Regions from separate parts of the Homo sapiens genome. Here region 1 is linked to region 2. The links are contacts of gene promoters, found by promoter capture Hi-C in blood cells and fetal thymus (Javierre and others, 2016). All regions are on one chromosome and are shown on one strand. Each heading gives the region's core, a stretch centred on a gene start or on the middle of the fragment in contact. The rest is flanking DNA. Distances are from core to core; before and after follow the strand shown.

Region 1 (4,786 bases), core at 331-2,830, 1.0 Mb after region 2:
TGGCACTTTTAAAGGTAACTTCACCAAAGACCGAAGAGCCAGTAACCAGTAGCTCCAACTTGTCTCAGCATCACATCTTCTGTGCTCTTTATTTTTGCCGGACCAGTTTGCGGTTAGGAGAATGTGCCTTTTTTGTACCTTTGCATTTAGGTTTTATAATTTTAATTGATGTATGGACACACACAAACAAAAAAGCATGAAGGAAGATTTGGATCCAAGCAGTGCCACACTTTACATCATCACTACAAGTGTTCAAGTGTAAAGAAAACCAATTTTGAAACTATGAAATTCCTGATTCATAAATACACAGTTATTTCTACTTTAGTACATATAAGATAATTCACTGTTATTAAAGCTCTTTTATTAAGGCAATTGCATATGTTTTAAAAGCAATGGTAAATTAAGTTGTCTTCCAAAACTGTGTACTTGTCTGGTCAGCTGTGTATGATCAGTTATCTACCTCAGAGTCTATTTTCTTTTGTGCTGGGACAGGTTGCTGGCCCTCCCTGTTTCCACAGACCAAATCCTCCTAGCTCAGGAGCTAGGGCTAAGCAGTTATTTCTTTCAAGTATTTTTTAGTTCTTAAATTTTATGCTTGTATTTGATGATAGATGTCAGTGACATTTCATAGTTTCAAAAGTCCTTGCTGCTCTGAGAAGTGTAGATTCTAGTGAAAATTACATAGTCATAAGAGAAATGTGTTTTTGTTTTTGTTTTTGTTTCATTTTTTTAAAGTTGTGGTATTATTGGTTCTATGCTCCCTGGAATATTACTGCTTTGTGAAAGTCCAGACTGAACGCAGCACCCTCTGTGTACCTAGTACAGTTATAAACCTGGGTCTCTCACTACTTGATATTTTTGCATTAGTTAAGACAGAAATTTGATAGCTCGGTTAGAGGGGAGGGGAAATCTGCTGCTAGAAATGTCTGAACTAAGTGCCATACTCGTCTGGGTAAGATTTGGGAAACATAACCTCTGTACATAAAAAAAAAAAAATCAGTTAAACATCACATAGTAGACAGCCATTAAATTATAAAAAAATTAATTTATGAAGAAAGACCTTTTGTACAGATTGAAAAAAAAAGATTTTCATAGAGATATCTATATGATCAAGAGAGTTAATTTTTTATTTTTGTTTTACTAGTGCCACAGACTTGCCAGTGGTAACTTATTTGTCCGGTTCAAGATAACTCTGTAGTTTTCTTTCCTAGGACTTGTTGTTAAACGCCAAAAGACATTTTTGAACTGTACATTTGATCAGATTGTTAGCTTTTCTGTTTTATTTCTTTTGAGAACCTTTGAATAAAAAACATCTGAAATTTTATTTTTCCTGTCAATTTTTTTTAAGTCGATTAAGTGTATATCAGAATTTCATTTCATTTCTGATCTCTTTCTTCAGCTCAGTAGATTGGTTTGAAAGTGAGTTGAAAGTTATGTCAGATTCAATATATCCTCAAAATACATTTCCTTGAAAACAATTGGAAAAACCTTTCCACCCCACTTTTGCTGGTTATTTAAATCTGTGTAATGACCAGAGACGTCAACCCTCAGCTCAGCACGTCAACCGTCAGCTCAGCACGTCAACGGTCGGCTCAGCAAATATCCAGCCCAAAATACACCACTAGTGGTCTGTTCTTAAAGACCAAAAAACCAGGCCCTTTTTCTTCCTCCTTTCTTGCTGCTACGCCTCAACTATTTCATTGCTTGTCAATGCTCAGCAAGGAAGACAGCCTAACAGCAGCCCTCCCACCTGTGGTAAGGAAGCATGTGGGCGAGAACCTCGGGATAATCTTATCTATGCGTTTATGACCAAGGTCCTCTTTCAGAGCTACCTGTTCAGCTGTTCCCGACTGGAGGCTCCCGTGCAGCATTCACGGAGGAGCGAGAACTCCTCTTTCCCTCACTTGACTGCTTTATAGGAGGCACTTAATATGCAAAATAGGCTCCTTCTGCCCAAAGTGGAGTAAACGTTTTAGTGTGGTGGTTCAGTATTTATTTCCTGGTGTCCAGTGGCTCTGTCATGGTGATAAAAAGAGTGGGCAAGGAAAAGATGCAGTCCGCTCCATTTCTGGCTGCGTCCCCTGCCATGTGGATGGTGTGCGGGGTGAGTTAGATAAGGGAGGGGTCAGAGCACTTAACTTGCCGGAGCCAAGAAATCGCTGGTACTTGATGGCTGTTTCAGAGAAGGAAACAACATTCCTCTGATGCTAACTGGTGCTTCTGAGAGCAAAATGTCAGGGAGGAGAGAAGCATGGCCTCTCGAGACAAACCCAGGCTGCTAAGAATGTAAGCTCTGGTCTCACTTTGCGTTCCAGCCAAACACCTAAGTGCTCCTTTCTATGACCAAAGGTAAGAAAGAAATGCAATTCAGGCTCCTGGGCACCTTCGTTTTTGTTCACCCTATTTTTGTTGTAGCTTCTCGCCGCTGAAGTCCGCGGCCCTCTATCTGGCTGTGTTATGTACTGAAACCGGTAAACATACTCAGGAGCACCAATCCACGGAAAAGGGAGGATCAAGCCAGCGATGGTGGTTCACAGTTACCGCTCCCATATAACTAGAGGGGTTGTGGCATGTTTGGGGATAAACCCCACCTAGCTGAAAGCTCTGAGACTGAAGTGGAATTCTGGGGTTGGAGGAGAGGAAAGAGGGTGTGGCCGTTGCTCTGTGGTCTACGTATTTTCCCCTCTATAGTGGCTGGAATGAGGAAAGCCAGGGAGTGGAGGCGGGAGTCCCGTTTTTCACCCCACTGCCACACCCTTCATGGCCAGTGGCTCTAGGTTTATCCGCTGGAGCTTAAATCCCACAAATACTGATTTAAAATTCACTAGGAGAAAGGCAGTGCCTCCCAGCCTGAGCCGGGGCTCAATGAATGTTAAGATATGACTGATTATATCCTCATTCCATTAGGGTAGCCAAAAAGGAAAAGAGCCAGCGCCATTGGGACAAAGGTCACCGACCTCTCAATCGCCCTGCCCCTTCCACAAAAAGCCTGAGATGTCAAGTAGGTGGGGGAGGGAGGAGAGCCGGGAGCTCAGGATTTGAGGAAGGCCAGGCAGTCTCTGCCCCTCGAATAGCAACGCGATGAGCTCAGCCCCCTCAGTCCAGGCCGAGAGCCAGATGGGGGTCACGTGGCCGCGGGGCCCCCCGGGCGCAGGGTCCTCGGCACAGCTGACGGGTGCGCGCCGAGCTCCGCCGGGCGAAGGAATTCCAGCCCCGCAAAATGGCTCCAGAGTGTCTCCCGTGACTCGCTCGGTGGCTGCGGAAGGCAAGAGGGTGTGTGCGCTTGAGCCGCTAGAGGGAGGGTGTTTTGTTCCTCAGCCGTCAGACGCGAGCTCTGCAGGCCGAAAACCCAGACCCGCTGCAGCCGACATCGGGAAGCCCCTGGGCGGAGGTTTAGCCTGTCGGGGCACACAGGCCTGGGTCACAGGGGTCTTGAATTTGGGGTTCCTCGTAAGACTGGAGCGCAGGCCGTCGCCTGTGCTGGCAGCGCCCTCATTGTGAGCGTTGTTGGTCAGACTGGGGAGTGACTGAAATGTGACTTTGAAGGTTCAGGGCAGCTGGGGGCGGCTAGGGAGGAAACCGCGCGCCTTGCCAGACCACGTGACTCGGCGCGAGAAAGCGATGGCAGGTCTCTGGGCTGCTCAGAATTGAAAACGTGGCTTTGAATTAAAGAATTCGGTTGTTTTATGCGACTCTGAGAGACTTAAGATTTGATGTAGGCTATTCCAGTGCTCACACAGGACCCAGACCATAAACCAGACTGCAGGGATTTCCTATCCTCTAGTATCCTTGAAGCCACCTGCCCTACTTGAACACCTCCAGGGACCAGGCACTGCCTGCCTCACAGGGCATCAGGTAGCTTTAGGGAACAGCTCTCAAACTTGTTTGCAGAGGAGTCCAAATTGTGGCTTTGAAATTCCCACTTACCGGCCTTAGTGCTGCCAACCGGGATGCCACAGAGTCAGTCAGTCATACTTCAAGTGTGGAAACGTGACTCCATGGCTCTGCTCTTCTCTGGGTTGAGCATTCCTTCCAGCTTTAACTCTTCCTCGTCAGCCCTGGTCACTCCACATCATCAACTCACCTTCCAGATGTACCACAGTTGACTCAGGATAAAACCCAAAACCGGAGGAAGAACTTGGGACTTCACCTGTCTCCCCTGCCCTGCCGGTTCCTTTTTGACTTCTCAGACATACCACAATTCTTAGAACTTGTAGCCAGTGAAAATCCCTATGTTGCTTTATTTTTTAAATGACAGTAGTTACGCTAAAGACATGCAAGATAATATGAAGTCATTTTAAAATGAGGACATTTTAATGACATGGAAAATGCTTAGGATATAACGTGAATAAAAAGTGTTAGGAACAGACCTGTAGATACAGTATGATCAAAACTATGAAATAAGTATAAAACCCAAGGAGAGGCTGGGCACAGTGGCTTATGCCTGTAATCTCAACACTGGGAACCAAGGCCAGGGGATTGATTGAGGCCACGAGTTTGAGACCAGCCTGGGCAATATAGCAAGAGTCATCTCTACAAGAAAATTTTAAAAATTAGCCTGGCATGATGGCACACACTTGTAGTCCTAGCCACTTGGGAGGCTCAGACAGGATTGCTTGAGCCCAGGAGTTTGAGGTTGCAGTGGCTGTTATGTTCACGCCACTACACTGTAGCCTGTGTGACAGAGAGATACACTGTCTTAAAAATAAATAACAAGGAGAAAGTACTTCAAAATGCTTATCAAGTGGGAGGATTATAGAAAGTTTGTATTTTCTCATTTATACTT
Region 2 (4,647 bases), core at 251-2,750:
CTCAGCCTCCCAAAGTGCTGGGATTACAGGTGTGAGCCACCGCACCCGGCCTAAATTAAAATGGCAATGTATTATTTACCAAGCACTTTAGGCTGAAAAAAAAACAAAAAACCAAAAACTCCCAAAGTCAACAGGTGAAGCATCAATAAAAGATCATCACTTGAAAACTTTCTTCCCTTGGCAAGATTTAGGGACAAATTCAAGACAACATTTAGCCTTTTTCACTAAATAGCACTTCACTAAACACACCTTAACTGTAGTTAATTCAGAACCACTATATATCTTAACCTCTAAACTTCAAATGAGTCAGCTGGTAGGTAGCCTTACGTGACAGGAAGGCCACCATTATATTAATCATCTCCACTAAAACTGTGTTCATGTTTTTGTTATTTCTACAGTATCAGTGCATGTCTTGCTGCTTTTCTCAAACACATTAAGTCAGAAGCACTAAAAAAACACTTGTGACCAGTGGAACAAAATCACTTTCACACTATAACTCTATTTTATGCTCATTTTTAAACCCTTTCCCCTGCCTTTCCATAATATTTTATCAACTTATATTACCATTTATTTTCTCGAGAATTTTTCCTTCAGTCACTAGGTTTATAGACTCAAAAGTTTACATTCTTTTTCTTTTGACAGACACAGAGCTACATCCCCAGGAAAATTAAGTTGCAAGATGTAACATACGGTAGCAGATTTCTACTTTACTTAAAACGAGAAATGTAATCAATTTACCAACAATTACTCAATTAGTATGATATTGAAAGTAAGTTAACAGCCATAGTAGCACACTTTGTTTTTAAGATATTCAAGGTCCAAAAGCAGTGTATCTGCAGGACTTTTGTTTACTTTTTGGAGGGAGCTGAAAACCTAACACTAACAGAAAAAGGGTTAAGGCTTACAGGAAGGACAAGAGATAAAACAAACGTATTCAATGGGAAAGTTAATTCTACTCTCTCTCCCTTGTTTTCCCGGTCTGCTTTGAAAAACTTCAAAGCAGACCGGTTAACAACTATGGATAGAGCACAGACAAACAGGCCATAAACAAGGATTCTCTCTATATAGATGGAAGAGGTTCCCATGATGTGAATTCGGCCAAACAGAAAAGAATGGAGAAAGGAGGCGACATCCAGACCTGACCCTGCCAGAGAGCCCTGAGAGCAGGCGAAGAGAATGAAGGAGGCCGGGCTCCTCCCTCGCGGCCCAGGCCTCCTGTGGCAACTCAGCTGGGCAACGTGACTCAGGAAAGCACGGGGCTGGCGGCGGCCTAGCACGGCTGCCTCCCCAGACCTCCCAGGCCTGCCTTCTGGGTCTTACCTGAAGACGGGCGGGAGCCGGATGCCGCGATATGGACCCTTGTCTTGCCTCTGTGGTGACGCGAAGACAGAGGCAACAGCAGCAGCGGCGCACACCCGACGCGGCTCTGTCTGCAAACCGGCGATGAATCAGCCCGATTCCATTCAAAAGAGTTGCCCGGGCCTCCGCCGCGAAGCACTTCCGGGTTCACTAGTTTGCTTCGGCTTCCGTTCCCCGACGGCCAATTGGAGACGACGGAGAGTCAAGCGGATGTCCAGGAGGAGCTCTTGGGACAGACGGCGCGGGCGGCCCGGCGTCTCCTGTCTCTGGCAGGACTGTGAGGCGGCACTTAGCGCCCTGGTCGCTCGCGCCCCGCCGACGCCTCCTTTTTCTCTCCCTACCTCTGCGCTCTGCGGCCGCCGCTGAGATCTGGGACGGCGGCACATCCAGCCCGGGAGACGACTGGCTAGGAAATAGAACTGTTAGTATTTTGAAGCCCAGATCCCCTTTCGTTTTGGTGTTCACTACTATTATTGCCCTCCTCAAAAACTAAAAGGTTCATTTGAGCTAGATTTAACTTGGTTATCTGAGAAGAAAATTTTTTTAAAAGAGGGGGGATGGTGTGATTAGAGGGGACCGGTAAGACGCCCTTTTCTGTAAGTCCGCTTTATCCACCTCTTGTCATTATTGCTTTGCAAGGATTGGATTTCAGGGAAAACTAAGGTTTCCCAAATGTTCAAACCACCTATTTTAAGCCGAGTTTAGTTTACAGGGTTTAAAGAGTCATTTATTCACATTTCTCCATGTAATTATCGGCAATCACATTTTACTCATGATCTACTTTGTGCTAGGCTTTCAAAAAGCAAAGTTGCAGAAGATATACTTGACAAGTTGATATTACACTCTAGGTCTAGGTACAGTCTCTGTTTAAGGCAGCTTGTTTGCCACGTTCCTGTCACTTTCTCAAATATGTTCCAAATAACAAGCATCTTTAAAGCATTCCTAAATCGAGAATGGTGATGAATCTACTGGACAGAGGGTGAGGAAAGATTACAGCGCCTGGATCCAAACTGTGATTTGAGTAGCACAATTGCTTTAAGATATTAATACCTTTAAAAACACAAAGATTATTTTACTCATAGGTAATATTTGGATCCACATCTTTATGCTTCCCCCCCAAACCTATGCCTCTCTATTCATTTTTTATGGGAGGAGGGGGTGAGTAGCCCCGTCCTCCAAATAATTTTCCTAATCAGAAACTTAAGAGTATGAACACTTGCCTCTTTTTCATCTCTCCCCACTGTAGAAACCATGAAATGTGTAATCTCCATAACAGCTTTTCCAATCCACCACTTCCCCTTCTAAATACTCCCCACTTTGGCCTTAACTCAGACCTTCCTCACTTCTTTTTTATTTTATTTTATTTTATATGTATTTATTTATTAATGCATTTTTGAGTTAGGGTCTTGCTTTGTCACGCAGGCTGGAGTGCAGTGGCGCCATCTGGGCTCACTGCAACATCCCGTCCCCGGGCTCAGGCAACCCTCCCACTTCAGCCTCCTAGGTAGCTAGGGCTACAGGCGCTTGCCACCATGCCCAGTTAATTTTTATTTATGTTTTTATTTATTTTATTTTTTTAGTAGAGACAGGATTTCACCATGTTCCCCAGGCTACTTTTTTAGAATGCTCTTTGATCTTTCCGCCTTCGGTCTGATTCCTTTTAATCCATTCTCCACCTCACTGGTAAAAATTTTTGTGCTATATGTAGTCATGCTCCTTCTTTATTTAAAATTCCACTAGTGGCTCCCCATAACATTCATTATAAAGGTCAAAAAAAAAAAAAACCCTTAAACTTTGTTTGGAGCACCTTTTGCTCCAGCCATACTAAAGTATTTAGCTGGGGAATAAGATGTCCATAGGGCTTTGAAAAACGCTAACATATTCCTGAGACTGTAGAAGGTGCTTAGGGTGTGCATATGTCTAGGGTTATGTGAACACTCAAGATAGGCCTGAGAAGGCCCTGAGCTCTAACCTCTGGGTGACCTTGAGGCACTACAGAAGCAAGAAGTGAAGGCTAAGGCAGAATTATTTGGTTGGTTGGTGCAAAAAATTGCGGTTTTGTCATTTCAACGAAATTACTTTGGTACCAACCTAATGTAAAGTGCTTGGCTGATTGTTGAAGGCTTGTCCCAACGTAAGTACTAAACCCCTCAGGAAAGACTGGGAGATTTTTTGGTTGAAGGTGTTTAAGAAAACCTGTCTCTCTAATCATTAGTTGACCACTAAGCTAACTGAGCAGAAACCTGAGTGGTCACACACAATAAACAATGCAGACTTTAAAGAATTCATTCATAAGCTAGGTGCGGTGGCACACGTGTAGTCCCAGCTACTCGGTAAACTAAGGCCAGAGGATCCCTTGAGTCACCAACTCAGACCCTATCTCTAAAAAAAAAAAAAAAGAATGAGTTCAGAAAAGTCACTAAATCAACAACTGCTACAACAAACAGAAATAACAGTGAAGCTTGGGGAGCGGGTAGAATCTGATTTCCAGTGTTGCACATTATATTATTTAAAATGTTCAGTTTTCAAAATAGTTAAGATACATGCAAAGAAACAAGAATGTATGGCTCATACACAGGATAAAAATTAATCAATAGAAACTCACCCGAGGAAGCCTACATGCTGGACTTACTAGATAAAAAGGCTTTAAATCAGATATTTTCAATATGTTACAAAGCTAAAGGAAACCATGTCTAAAGAACTAGAGGAAAGTATGAGATGTTTCATCAAATAGATGATAAAGACAAATCATTTTTTAAAACCCAAATAATTCTGGAGTTAAAAAGTATAATATGCCATGACGGAGACAAATTTTAAATTTTTAAAAAAAAATAAAATAACAAAAAGGTATAATAAAGTGAAAAGTTTACTAGAGGGGCTCAACCCCAGATTTGAGCAGGGAGAAAAAAAAAATCAGCAAACTTCAATATAGGTCAGTTGAGATGATCTAGTCTGGGCAACAGATTGAAAAGAGAAAGAAGAAACATCAACAGGCCTCAAAGTCCTGTGGGACACAATCAAGCACACCAACGTGCGCGTAATGGGAGTTTCAGAAGGAGAGGAGAAAAAGAAAAGGGCAGGCATAATACTTGAATAAAAGAATGGCCAAAAACTTCCTAAATTTAATGAGAAATATTTATCGACACATCCAAGAAGCTTAACAAATGCCAAGTGACATAAACAAATCCACACCTCAACACATTGTAATTAACCGATTAAAAGTCAAGGGCAAAGAGAGACTCTTGAAAGTGGCCACTTTCAAGAAGAAAAGCCACAAAGAGAGAAGCC

The links. Contacts are between HindIII fragments. The CHiCAGO score rates a contact against its expected background, and 5 or more counts as called.
Region 1: the fragment with the promoter of LINC02478 here is called in contact with the fragment with the promoter of PSMD14 in region 2 in 2 of 17 cell types (neutrophils and total B cells); the score reaches 12.3 in neutrophils.

What each region holds. Positions count from the first base shown.
Region 1 is chr2:160,268,689-160,273,474 of GRCh38, reverse strand. LINC02478 (long intergenic non-protein coding RNA 2478) reads left to right here and starts at 1,580. Exons shown (of 2, transcript NR_103775.1): 1 at 1,580-1,755. RBMS1 (RNA binding motif single stranded interacting protein 1) reads left to right here. Exons shown (of 14, transcript NM_016836.4): 14 at 1-1,324. RefSeq lists an enhancer at 2,763-3,372. The HindIII fragment of the contact is 15,786 bases long and covers 1-4,786 here.
Region 2 is chr2:161,305,278-161,309,924 of GRCh38, reverse strand. PSMD14 (proteasome 26S subunit, non-ATPase 14) reads right to left here and starts at 1,500. Exons shown (of 12, transcript NM_005805.6): 1 at 1,321-1,500. RefSeq lists an enhancer at 1,173-1,632. The HindIII fragment of the contact is 7,205 bases long and covers 1-3,822 here.